Regions from separate parts of the Homo sapiens genome. Here regions 2 and 3 are each linked to region 1. The links are contacts of gene promoters, found by promoter capture Hi-C in blood cells and fetal thymus (Javierre and others, 2016). All regions are on one chromosome and are shown on one strand. The core of a region is centred on a gene start or on the middle of the fragment in contact, and the rest is flanking DNA. Distances in the headings are between cores, read along the strand shown.

Region 1 (4,064 bases), core at 857-3,356:
AAGACTAAGTAAGTTAAAGATCACAGCTCCCTTAATGTACATGAATATTCGTGTGTGTGTGTGTGTGTGTGTGTGTGTGTGTGTGTGTGACTGAGTTTCACTCTTGTCTTCCAGGCTGGAGTACAATGGCGTGATCTTGGCTCACTTCAATCTCCAGCTCCCGAGTTCAAGCGATTCTCCTGCCTCAGACTCCTGAGTAGCTGGGATTACAGGCGCCTGCCACCATGCCCAGCTAATTTTTGTAATATTTAGTAGAGACGGGGTTTCACCATGTTGGCCAGGCTGGTTTCGAACTCCTGACCTCAGGTGATCCACCCGCCTCAGCCTCCCAAAGTGGTGGGATTACAGGCGTGAGCCACCACACCCAGCCTATTCTTTTTAAGTTTCTTGATGTAGTGGCAGTAGTCTTGTGCTCTTCAGGAGAGTGTCCCGAGTTCTACGTCCCACATCAACTGAGGGTGTGAACTTGTGGAGGACTTTTGTCTGAATCTCTTTTTCAATCTCTATACAATGTGGCGGAGTTGTGCCACCTACATGAGCCAATGGAGAAGAAAGCTCCTGGTATACTTTAAGTACTCAACAATATTAAATACTGAATATTTGTCAATTGACGAAGTACTTCAAAAGCTTGATTCTCAGACTCCTTCTTAGATAAATCATTCCCTAGATTGTCTCATCCTGTCCTGACAACTTCCAAATTTATGTCTTTAGCTGTGATCTCTTCACGGAAGTCCAGACTCCTATTCCAACTGCCTGTTTGGCATTTCATCTTGGATGTTTAATTGGCATCTTTAACACATCCAAAACAAAACTATTAATCCCTCTCCCTAAACCTGTTCCTTTCAAGCTACTCGATTTCTAAAAGACCATCCCATGCTAGTTGCTCAGATCAATAACCATGGAGTCATCAGTAACCAACATTCAATTCATTAGCAAATCATGCAGGCCATGCCTTCAAAATATATGCAGAACCATTTCTCACTACCTGCATCACTTCTAAGCCTGTCCAAGCCACTATCAGTCCTCATCTGGAATATTGTAATGGCCTCTTAATCTCCCTGATTCTACTCTTACCCACCTTCAGACCGTTCTCAACAAGACAGCCAAAGCAAACTAAAAATATAAGTCAAAGAGCAAAATTCATGCAAGGTTTATGTTAGAATGGCTAAGGACAGACAGCAAAGAATTCACAGAATTTATAGTAACAGGCTTCTTGGCTTCTTTCATGTCTCATAGCTAACAAGTCTTTGAATATGTGGTAAGGGAAAAAAAGTTAGATCATGTCGTTCCTCTGTCCCCAAGCCCTCCAGCTGTTATGCAGAGCAAATCCAAAGCCCTTATCATAGTCTACAAGATCCTAAATGTGCACCTCTCCACCCCACTCCTGATTAAAGAATTTTGCTCCTAATGGCCCACTATGGGAATACTCTTTCCCCAGATAGCCACATGCTTCAATTGCCCACTTCCTGTCTCTGCCCTCCCTGTCATCTGTAAAATAGTCCCACCACTATCTCCCTCTCTCCCCTTACTCCCTCTCTCCCCTTACTGCTACGTTCTACATATTTATTTATCATTGTCTCCTTGACTTGAATGTAAACTCAATGGGGCAGAGAGTTCATTTTCTTCACTACTGTATCCGCAGCGCCTGGAACAGTGAGTGACATAGTAGGCACCCAAAACGTCTTTTCATATGCTGCCAATAAACCATAGCTGATCCTGGCTTTGAGGCTGAATGACCCAGATCTGTGGAAGGAAAGATGACCTCTCTGCTCAGCAACCGGAGCTGGGGGTGTAACTTTAGGGAGTCTCAGCCTGAGGCTGGCAGCCTGGCCACCCAGATGCTCGGTCTCTTTCCGCCCTAACCAAGCCCCCTGCCCAGCTTCCACCACTTCCAGGGCCCTCCTCACATTGGCTGAAGTCGCCAAGCCCTTCCATCCAATGATAGGGCAAAGCCCGGAAGGGAGGCAGGGCCAGAGCGTCGGCCGACCGCGCGGGGCTTCTGAGGGGCGGGGGGACTCCAGCCCGCGGGCACAGAGATGTGGAAACCTCACGAAGCCTAGAAGGGCCGGAGGGACAGGCTGGGAGTTAGCTGGGAGTTGCTGACGCAGTTCCTTCTGCGCTTTGTTCAAGATGTGGGTCTGGCGCTTTCGGTGAGGGGTGCTCTACAGTCTGGCGTGGGGGGTCGGGCCGGGTTCTGGGAGCGTGTGGGAGACGCAAGCCAGGAGGCCAGGGCTCCTCTGCGGCTGCCCGCTGCTGAGATGGGCGCGGCAGCCAAGGGGTCGTTGTGGGCCTCCCCTTTCTCTCGTTCAGTGCTGCCCCTTTGTCTTGGGTCCAGTCTCTGACTCCTCGTAGCTGCTCGCTTGGACCAGGCTGGCCGTGGTGACAGCACTGTGTCGTCCCCGCTCCTAGGCAGTGGGCCTTCCGGGTAGTAGCGGTCGAGTCCCGCCTAGGCTCTCAGGACTCCACAGCCCCTGAGTATTTGACTCAAATCACCAGTCCAATATCCCTCCCGTTACCAGTGAGGAACCTGGGGCCCAGAGAAGAGGACGGAGTCTTGCCCAAGGTTACTCATTCATTCATTGATTCATTCAACAAATATTTATTGAGCACTAACCCAGTAGTGTGCTAGGTCCTGGGGTTATGGTTGTGTACAGGACAGAACTAAATTCTAGTAGGGGAGAAATGAAACAAACTTCAAGGGTTAGAAGCAGAGCCTGGGGATCTGGAGGGGGAAACACAAAACATATTTGAGGCTTAGTAATCCTAAGAAATGGGTAAACAGAAAAAAGGAACATTCTTTTTCTAGTGCTCTTTTAAAGACTTGTTTCTTTCTGTCTTCCTAAAGACACTTGACTCAGCAAAGTTCTCCCTCTCATCCCCCTTGTGCAGACTTTCTGTGGAAAGCTGGATTGCAAGGAAGTTCTCCACTGCATTGTATTTTGCAGTTAGATGAGAATATGGAAGCTTTTAGATATCAATGGAGCAGGTGAAAAGGGGAGGCTGTGGTGTGATGGAATTAGGATTTCCTGAAGACACAGAAGGCTTTTTAATCACTCACTAGCTATAGGACCTTGGGCAAGTCGTTCAATCCCTGGGAGCTTCATTCCCTCATCTTTACACTGGAAATGATCCTTCTTACTGCCCACAGTTCTATAGGAAGGGAAGTTACCCAAAGATGGGACACTGCCCTGAGTGTCCACTTGGAATTCAGGGCTCAGAGAACTCAGTCATTTATATCTGTTTACAGTGACTCAAGACCCTCTTAGGAACTTCTTCACTGAACTCAAGGAGGAGATCAGGCAAGATCTGTGCTGTGCAGATCCTTTGGATTGAGGCTGCTGTGCACAGGAATATGGGTGAGTCATTCCATTCTCTCCTGGGCAGGTGAGGCCTAGATTGTGAAGTTAGTCTGGGCACAGGAATCCTGCTTGTGGGCACCAGGGTTGAAAGGGAGCTTCTCTCAGTGGTATTTATCAAACAGGAGAAAAGCACTGAAGTGGGCAGGGGGCCTCTGGACCTTGAGGAGTAGAGTTTTGTTTCAGATGGGAATAAGGGTGATGTAGTAGAACTCAAAATTGGGTGTCATGGGACTTGGATTTGAGTCCCAGCTTTCCTCTAAGTTCCAAGTTTTCCTTCTGTACATTTGGATATAAGACTGGATAGACTGGGAGGTTCCTTCCAGCTCTGACATACTGAGAGTCTCTGAATAGTGGGACCAGGTCAATCTCTTAGGGAATTTAGTCCCTGGGATGACTCTGTTGAGACAGAATTGCCAAGAATGCAAATACACCATTATGGTGTTTCCCAGATAATATGAAGCACAAAAAGGACAAACATGTAGAGGAGGGATGGTAGTAGTGATGTGTGGATTTGGCTCTCAGCATCCCTATGTGCACTCCAGGTGTTAGAATCTTAAACTTGTTTAATTTACCATTTCAAATCAAACAATGCTGACTGAGCCCTCTCTGTGTCAGACACCATGTGGTATCTACAGGCAAATCTCATGGGAACTGCTCTCTGAGGGCATAGAGCTTAATGTATATATTTGAGGATGGACACAGACA
Region 2 (4,064 bases), core at 937-3,436, 180 kb after region 1:
TCCATTTCTAGAGCACAGGCAGAGTAGATTTAGCATAATTCTTACGGACCCTAGGATTTTTGGAATGGTAAGTATTAGCTTCAACTTAAAAGTCACCAGCTGCATTAGCTCCTAATGAGAGAGTTAGCCTGTCCTTTGAAAATATGAAGCCAGGCACTGACTTCTCTCTAGCTATGAAAGTCCTAAATGGCCCAGGCATAGTGGTTTTTGAGAGGCTTTGAGAGGCTAAAGTGGGAGGATTGCTTGAGTCCAGGAGTTTGAGACCAGCCTTGGCAACACAGTGGAATCCTGTCTCTACAAAAAAATACAAAAATTAGCCAGATGCGTTAGTTCATGCCTGTAGTCCCAGCTGCTTGAGAGGCTGAGGCAGGAGGATCACTTGAGCCCAGGAGGTCAAGGCTGCAGTGAGCTGTGATTGCACCACTGCACTCTAGCCTGGGCGACAGAGTGAGACCCTATCTCAAAAAAAAAAAAAAAAAAAAAGTCCTAGATGGCATCTTCTTCCAATAGAAGGCTGTTTCATCTACATTGAAAACCTGTTTAGTGTAGCCACCTTCATCAACTATCTTAGCTAGATCTGAATAATTTGCTTCTTCATCTCATACTTTTATGTTATGGAGATGGCTTCTTTCCTTAAACCTCATGAACCAACCTCTGTTAGCTTCACACTTTTCTTCTGCAGCTTTCTCACATGTCTCAGACTTCACAGGATTTAAGAGTTAGGGCCTTGCTCTAGATTAGGCTTTGGTTAAAGGGAATGTTGTGGCTGGTTTGCTCTTCTATCCAGACCACTAAAACTTTCTCTGTATCAGCAATGTAGCTGTTTTGCTTTCTTGTCATTCATGTGTTCAATACTGATCCCTCCGGCCCTAGACAACAATAGTCAGGTGTGGCTCTTTCCTGAAGCTCCTCTTCTTCTATTTAGACCCAGGATATTTACGGCTTCTGCTTACTCTTCTTTTTTTTCTTTTTTTTGAGACGGAGTCTCGCTCTGTCGCCCAGTCTGGAGTGCAGTGGCGCGATCTCGGCTCACTGCAAGCTCCTCCTCCTGGGTTCACGCCATTCTCCTGCCTCAGCCTCCCGAGTAGCTGGGACTACAGGCGCCCGCCACCATGCCTGGCTAATTTTTTGTATTTTTAGTAGAGACGCGGTTTCACTGTTTTAGCCAGGATGGTCTCGATCTCCTGACCTCGTGATCTGCCGCCTCAGCCTCCCAGAGCGCTGGGATTACAGGCGTGAGCCACCAGGCCCGGCTTTTTTTTTTTTTTTTTGAGACGGAGTCTCGCTCTGTTGTCCAGGCTGGAGTGCAGCTGCGCCATCTCAACTCACTGCAACGTCCACCTCCCGGGTTCGAGCGATTCTGTCTCAGCCTCCGGAGTAGCTGGGACTACAGGCATGTGCCACCATGCCCGGCTAATTTTTGTATTTTTAGCAGAGACGGGGGGTTTCACCATATTGGCTATTGGCTCTGCTGGTCTCGAACTCCTGACCTCAGGTGATCCGCCCACCTAGGCCTCCCAAAGTACTGGGATTACAGGCGTGAGCCACTGTGCCCGACCTTCTCTATATTATTTTTATTTATTTTTAATTAACAAAGCATAGAAACAGATTCAGGACATTCCTCCGAAGACGTTCCAGACTCGAGTCCTAGGACATGGTTGGGGCGGGGGTCATTTGATCGAGTGGCCTGTGTCCTTATCTGGAATACGGGACGACGCTGTAACTCTAACTCACCCTGCGAACTCACAGCTTTTGAGGTAAACAAGTGAGAAAGAAGAGACAATAAAGTGATCTTTCTTTACCATCTACCAAGGACCAGGTGGTTTACACGTCAGTTCATTTTCAGGAACACAGCAGCGCTCTGAAAACTACAGAGCTTCCTGGGCGTAGGGGGCTGTGGTCGCTTGAAAAGAACCAGCCTGGGGGTCCGAGTTCCACCGGAATTGGGTTCGAGCGCGGGTGAAAAGAGGGACCCGACAGCACCCACCCTCCAAGTAGAGGCAAAAGTTGAAAGTGGCGGGCTGGCTGCGCTTCCGAAGAAACACGACTGGCGAAGGCTCACCTTAGTCTCTACGGTGGGTCCCTCCCTGTAGCCGACCCGTTCCTTGAAGCGGGCCAGAAACGCCGGCTCGGCTGGCCGCACGTACGATACCTGGTTCCGCTTGCTCATGGTAGCTCTGGGTAAAGACAGAAGACAGGTTCCGCGACGGATTCGCGACGATACAGAGGCGCTTAGCTGTGACGTCACTGGGCCACGCCCCCGATGCGTAGGCCGGGCAACATGGCGGCCTCCATGCGGGCGTCAACGTCCGATCCAAGCGCCAAATTCAAATTTGCGGCCATCTTGAGCGGGCGGAATTCAGTCGCGCGCGGTGCAGTCGGGAGGTGGAGGCACCGGCTGCATTGTTTTCGGGATCGAGGGGTGAGGGCGCTATGGCACCCGGCTGCAAAAGTAAGTCTGGGCCCCCGGCTTCGTTACCCTATTTTTGCCCCCAAATACAGCTGTGAAAGGATGGCAGCCTCGGACCGCCCGCAAGGTTCTTGCTAGGCATGAACTGCAGGAGCTGAGTGACCGGCGGGGACGTTTGGGAATCCCGCTCTGTCGCTCAAAGACAATACGCTAGCCGAAAAGCTCATCCCTTCCTTCAGTGTCCTGTGCGCATGCCAGGAGTCTGGCGCAGTTCTAGGCGCTCGGGATGAGCAGTGGACCTGACGTTCTTCCCTTTCTTTCCCTTGGTTCTGCTGTTTCTTCGCAGGCCTCTTCCCACATCCCGACCAGGGCTACCTCTCTAGATATCCTTGTCTCAGGATCGGCTTTTGCTCCCACCAGCTTCTGCGTATTTCTACATTTCTGACCTTCCTATAGGGAAGGGTTTATTTATATTCCAAACATTTCTTTCTCCTCTTTCCTTAAATAAATGGAATGTTAAAACACAGATGTCAGCAATGTCTTTATGTTCTCACAGTCTCTATTTTCACTTAAAGGAGACCCGTCCGATTTCTTTCTCTTTTTCACGGAGGAGAGCACTGTCATTTTGCTTATGATAAACCCTACAGTTTTCACTAACGTAGTCATTTGCTGTGCCTGTGTACGTGCTCCACTTCTCACATTGCCACATCTCTTAAGGAGTCTTATTTTTGTAAACCTGATTATGAGCTGATTTAATGGGATCTTTGTGAGTGGTCTGAATGGTAATGAGGAGAGGCCTGGATTAGATGATTAAGAATTTGTGAACTTCTGTCATTTGAGCTTTCCAACGCCGTTAATGTTTCTAGCTTTCTGTCAATTGTAGTCGTTTTTGATGGGTTTGTTGTTTCATTAATCTTTTAGGTCGATCACACCTAATCGGAACACCTCCTTATGCTACCTTTTTGCATATAAAATATTCCTTTTCCTTTCATCATTTTCAGTATTCAAGGACTATGAGCTCACAAAATGGTACCTTATTGGAGAGAAATGTTCATCCTGCTTTCTGAACAATCATACTGTTTGTTCTTTGTTTCCACTTTATGGATCAGTCACTAAATCTGGACTCAAGCAAAAAATTTGATGCCTGTTAAATAAGTAAAACATCTGCTTATTTAATGAGATATATGTATGTGACTGAGGGCTCTTGTCTGAAAACCAAATTTGAGAACCTTTCTAAAGTGGTGGGAGCACTCTCCTTTATGATGGTGGTGATGCCATGGGGAACTTTTCCACTCCTTTAAGTTTGTTGGCAAAATTGAGGTTGATGACTTCCCAGTTAAAGTGCTTCTTGCATTCCCAGCAGCCCAGAGGCCTGGAGCATGAAGTGGGAACACATGGGAGAAGAGAGCCCGTGCAGTGGTCTTTGCAACTTTTACTTTGTGCCCCGAAGGCTATCTCTCTCTCTCTTTTTTATTTTTGAGACAGAGTCTTGCTCTATTGCCGGGCTGGAGTGCAGTGGTGCGATATTGGCTCACTGCAACCTCCGCCTCCCGGGTTCAAGAGATTCTCCTGCCTGAGTCTCCCAAGTAGCTGGGATTACAGGCACGCGCCACCATGCCCAGCTAATTTTTTTATTTTTAGTAAAGCCGGGGTT
Region 3 (4,064 bases), core at 963-3,462, 160 kb after region 1:
GAAAGAGAAAGGCAGAAGTTGCAAGGCCAGACAGGGAACATGTTGAGTTGCAAAAGAGGCACAGCAGTAACTAGATACATGAGGTGACAGGGAGAAGTCAAGACACCAAGCTTATACCCCTGCAGCTGGGATTCCTTAAATCCTTTACCTGCCCCAAAGCCCAGGCCATAGCTCCGTTTTTGCCTTGCCCATCACCATTTCCATTCTGCCAAGTCCAGCTTCCGTTGCTTATGGGGTTACAGAGAATCTCCTCTGAGAGGCAGACGGTCCTGCTGCATTTGTGCCAGAGACTCAGGTTGACTTGATGACTCAGGGAGAAGCAAGGGCAAAGGGAAAACTGATGCCAAGCCACCATCTGCACAGGGTGTGAGGGGAAAAGTGGACTGGTCCAGCTGGATTGGTGCAGAATGGAGAAGGTTGGTAAGGATTGAGAGTCTCAGAGCAACTGGGAAGATGGTTTGCATTCTAGGACCCTACACCGCAGATTAAGAAGGATCTAGGCTCTGGAGAAAATAGAGGCTATGATCAACTGAGTAGCGAGAAAAGTTATGGCTATGCATGGGAGAATTTGGGGAAACAATGATTAAAAATACAAAGTTCAGGGTCTCATCCTGTAGCTAAAGAACCTAGTCAGCTGTCCCTCAACAGCTCCAGGGACCAGGCTTGTCTTAGCCATTGCCACTTTCTAAGACAACATTCAAATTGATGATACTAAATGGTCCCTTCTACCCCAGCTTCTAGGACCATATATGCCTAAGTCATATTAAACCTAGAGCTGCCATTAGCCTAAGAATGACTGTGGGGCCAATGGGGAGGATTCCTAACGTCAAACCTGGACAGATGCCTTCTGTCTGCTCTTTCTCCTCCCTGAAAGACTCCATGCATGATCTGGGAGAAGCCATAGGTTGGTGAGAGTAGGTGTCAGTTGAAAGATAGTTTCTATAGTAGAGTTTATTGCTTTCTGGGGGAGAGAGCAGGCCCAGGAGTGGGGAAAGGGCCACAGAAACAGGCGCCTGGAAACTCAGACATGTGTCTTCCTTCCCAATGTGACTGTCTGGCCCTGGTTGTCTTGAGCCATCCAGCCAGATATGACTGTATGTTGTGCTGTTTTGTGTCAAACATCAGAACACCTCTGACCTTTACAAAGTGGGAGGGAATCCCTTGTGGGCTGCAGGACTCCTAACAATTAAAAAAAAAAAATCCCACTAATACCTAGAACTGCGCTAACACAGTAGCTACGACCCATTTGTGGCTATTTAAATTTAAATAATTAAGTAGAAGGAAAAATTCAGTTCCTTGGTTGCTCTAGCCACATTTCAAGTGCTTAATAGCCATAGGTGGCTAGGGCAGAATGTTCTATTGGACAACACTTGGACTTGATGTTTGGAAGTCCCAGACAGTAAATTTCAACATATTTTTTGGACGCTGGTATAGATTTTTCAACCTTTTGGCAAAGTAAGTACAATAAACTACCACCTGTCAAAATCATTATTTCATAAAATAAAGTATATTTTAACTTCAAAGAAACAAGAAAGATATAATCTCAGAATAAAGGACTCGTTCAGAAGAGAGGATAATTTGACACCTTTACACTGACCCTTTTGACCCCAGACAAGCCCTGGAGTCTGTATTGGCATTTATGTGCCATTGCCATACCCTAGGATTCTGGCCTCTTTAGTACTGGACATCGGTTGCCCTTGTGCCCTATCCTTGAAAAGGACATCAGGAAGGCCCTAGCAGGATCTTCGTGGCCTTTGGGAGTGAGGTGTCCTTCTCAGTGCATATCAGTAGGTCATGATGTCAGTATGACATTTTTTTTTTTTTTTTGAGACGGACTGTTGCTCTTGTTGCCCAGGCTGGAATGCAAAGGCTCATCGCAACCTCTGCCTCCCAGGTTCAAGCGATTCTCCTGCCTCAGCCTCCCAAGTAGCTGGGATTACAGGCATGTGCCACCATGCCCGGCTAATTTTGTATTTTTAGTAGAGATGGGGTTTCTCCATGTTGGTCAGGCTGGTCTCAAACTCCCGACCTCAGGTGATCCACCTGCCTTGGCCTCCCAAAGTGCTGGGATTACAGGCGTGAGTCTGGCATCAGTATGACTTATTACTGGTAATATTAACTTTGATCAGGCAGTTAAGGTGACATTTGCCTAGTTTCTCCACTGTAATGTTACTAGCTTTTCTTTCTTCTTTTCTTTTCTTTTTTTTTTTTTTGAGACAGAGTCTCACTCTGTCCCCCAAGCTGGAGTGCAGTGGTGCAGTCTTGGATCACTGCAAGCTCCACCTCCCGGGTTCACGCCATTCTCCTGCCTCAGCCTCCCAAGTAGCTGGGACTACAGGCGCCCGCCACCACGCCCGGCTAATTTTTTGTATTTTTAGTAGAGATGGGGTTTCACCATTCACAGGATGGTCTCGATCTCCTGACCTTGTGATCCGCCCGCCTCAGCCTCCCAAAGTGCTGGGATTACAGGCATGAGCCATCACGCCTGGTCACTAGTTTTTCTTTTGTAATTAGTGTCTTGTGGGGAGATACTTTGAGACTGTGAAAATACTCTGGTTTTGAGCATAATTTTGGCCACTAATTTTGGCATCCTTTGATGAGTCTTTCCAACAGCACTTGTGTATTAGTTTCCTATGGCCGCTATAAAAAATTATCACAAACTTGGTGGCTTAGAACAACAGAAATTTATTCTCTCAGAATTCTGGATGCCAGAAGTTTCAAATCAGCTACTCTGCTCAAATCAAGATGTTGGCAGGGCCATGTTCTCTCCAAAGGCTTTAGGGGAGAATCCATTGCTTGTCTCTTCCAGCTTCTGGTGCAGCCAGTATTCCTCAGCTTATAGCCACATCACTCCAGTCTCTGCCTCCATCTTCACATTTCCTATTGTGCCTAATCTCCCTCTATCTGTCGTTTATAAGGAAAGGTGTGAGTGTAATGGCATTTAGGACCCACTTATATAATCCAGGATAATCCACTTATCTCAAGATTGTTAATTTAATCACTTTTGCAAAAACTACCACGTAAGTTACCATTCACAAGTTCCAGGATCAAGACCCGTTGTCTTTAGGGACCATCATTCAGCCCGCTAAATTTTTTTACTGTGGAATTTGCCAAATACTGTTTCTATTTCCATAATTCCTCCTAACTTTATTAAAATTCTACTATAAGGAAGACCTAGCCCTTCTCATGTGTTCAAAATATATATATATTGTTTATATCAATAAGAATTTTATGAGTTGTTATCTACTATCATTAATTCCTTGTTCAAATTGCCCCAGATTTGGCCATTGGTAACTCCTGCTAGTTGGCTCCTGTATCCTTTTGACATGCCTTCATCATTTTTATATTTTTGAGACAGGATTTCATTCTGTCTCCCAGACTGGACTGCAGTGTTGTGATCACAGCTCACTGCAGCCTCAACCTCCTGGGATCAAGCAATCCTCCCACCTTAGCCTCCCAAGTAGCAGGGACTACAGGTGTGCGCCACTAGATACTGCTAATTTTTGTACTTTTTATAGAGATGGGGTTTTGCCATGTTGCCCAAGCTGGTCTTGACCCCCTGGGCTCAAGTGATCCACCTGCCTTGGCCTCCCAAATTGCTGGGATTATAGGCGTAAGCCACCTCCCCCAGCCGTTCATCATTTTTTAAACACCTCCTAATTTTTTGGCACAAGAGGTTCCAGGATCAGTTTTTACTATCTCCACTTTAGCCCTCAGAATCAACTATTTCTCCAAGGAACCCTAGTTTCTTTTTGGAGAATGATCTTTAGAAACTCTCTAAGCAATGCCGCCACCATCAGTGTTATAAACACTGGGAGCTCATATCTCTCCTATCCAATTCCAACCCCAACCTAGGACCTTGCTACTACCTTTAATTCCCAAAGACTAGCTAAATCTTGACTGTCACATTTGATAAGGTTTTACCAGTTTGAGGGCCACAAAAAAAGGGAAATACTGTACACTAACATGGCCCAGTTCTCATGGGATTTCCTAAAGTTGCCTCCCTGCCTAGCCTTTGGCTTGCCTGCCTCATGCTTAGCAAAGAGCATCTTTCCTCTTAAAAG

What was found. The method cuts DNA at HindIII sites, captures the fragments that hold promoters and counts their contacts. A CHiCAGO score of 5 or more calls a contact.
Region 2: the fragment with the promoter of KIAA1143 here is called in contact with the fragment with the promoter of ZNF660 in region 1 in 2 of 17 cell types (erythroblasts and M1 macrophages); the score reaches 6.2 in erythroblasts.
Region 3: a fragment that was not itself captured here is called in contact with the fragment with the promoter of ZNF660 in region 1 in 1 of 17 cell types (erythroblasts); the score reaches 5.0 in erythroblasts.

What each region holds. Positions count from the first base shown.
Region 1 is chr3:44,582,858-44,586,921 of GRCh38, forward strand. It overlaps ZNF660 (zinc finger protein 660), which reads left to right and starts at 2,107. Exons shown (of 3, transcript NM_173658.4): 1 at 2,107-2,150; 2 at 3,248-3,356. It overlaps ZNF660-ZNF197 (ZNF660-ZNF197 readthrough), which reads left to right and starts at 2,107. Exons shown (of 8, transcript NR_147692.2): 1 at 2,107-2,150; 2 at 3,248-3,356. The region is part of intron 2 of ZKSCAN7-AS1 (ZKSCAN7 ZNF cluster antisense RNA 1); the gene reads right to left. It also overlaps a transcript of ZKSCAN7 not described here. The HindIII fragment of the contact is 2,337 bases long and covers 626-2,962 here.
Region 2 is chr3:44,759,433-44,763,496 of GRCh38, forward strand. It overlaps KIAA1143, which reads right to left and starts at 2,187. Exons shown (of 3, transcript NM_020696.4): 1 at 2,063-2,187. The coding sequence starts at 2,170. KIF15 (kinesin family member 15) reads left to right here and starts at 2,362. Exons shown (of 35, transcript NM_020242.3): 1 at 2,362-2,452. The coding sequence starts at 2,434. RefSeq lists enhancers at 700-1,342, 2,133-2,412. The HindIII fragment of the contact is 21,704 bases long and covers 1-4,064 here.
Region 3 is chr3:44,741,360-44,745,423 of GRCh38, forward strand. No RefSeq gene overlaps it. Among named protein-coding and RNA genes, the nearest start is that of ZNF501, 14 kb to the left of the region's middle. The HindIII fragment of the contact is 4,209 bases long and covers 109-4,064 here.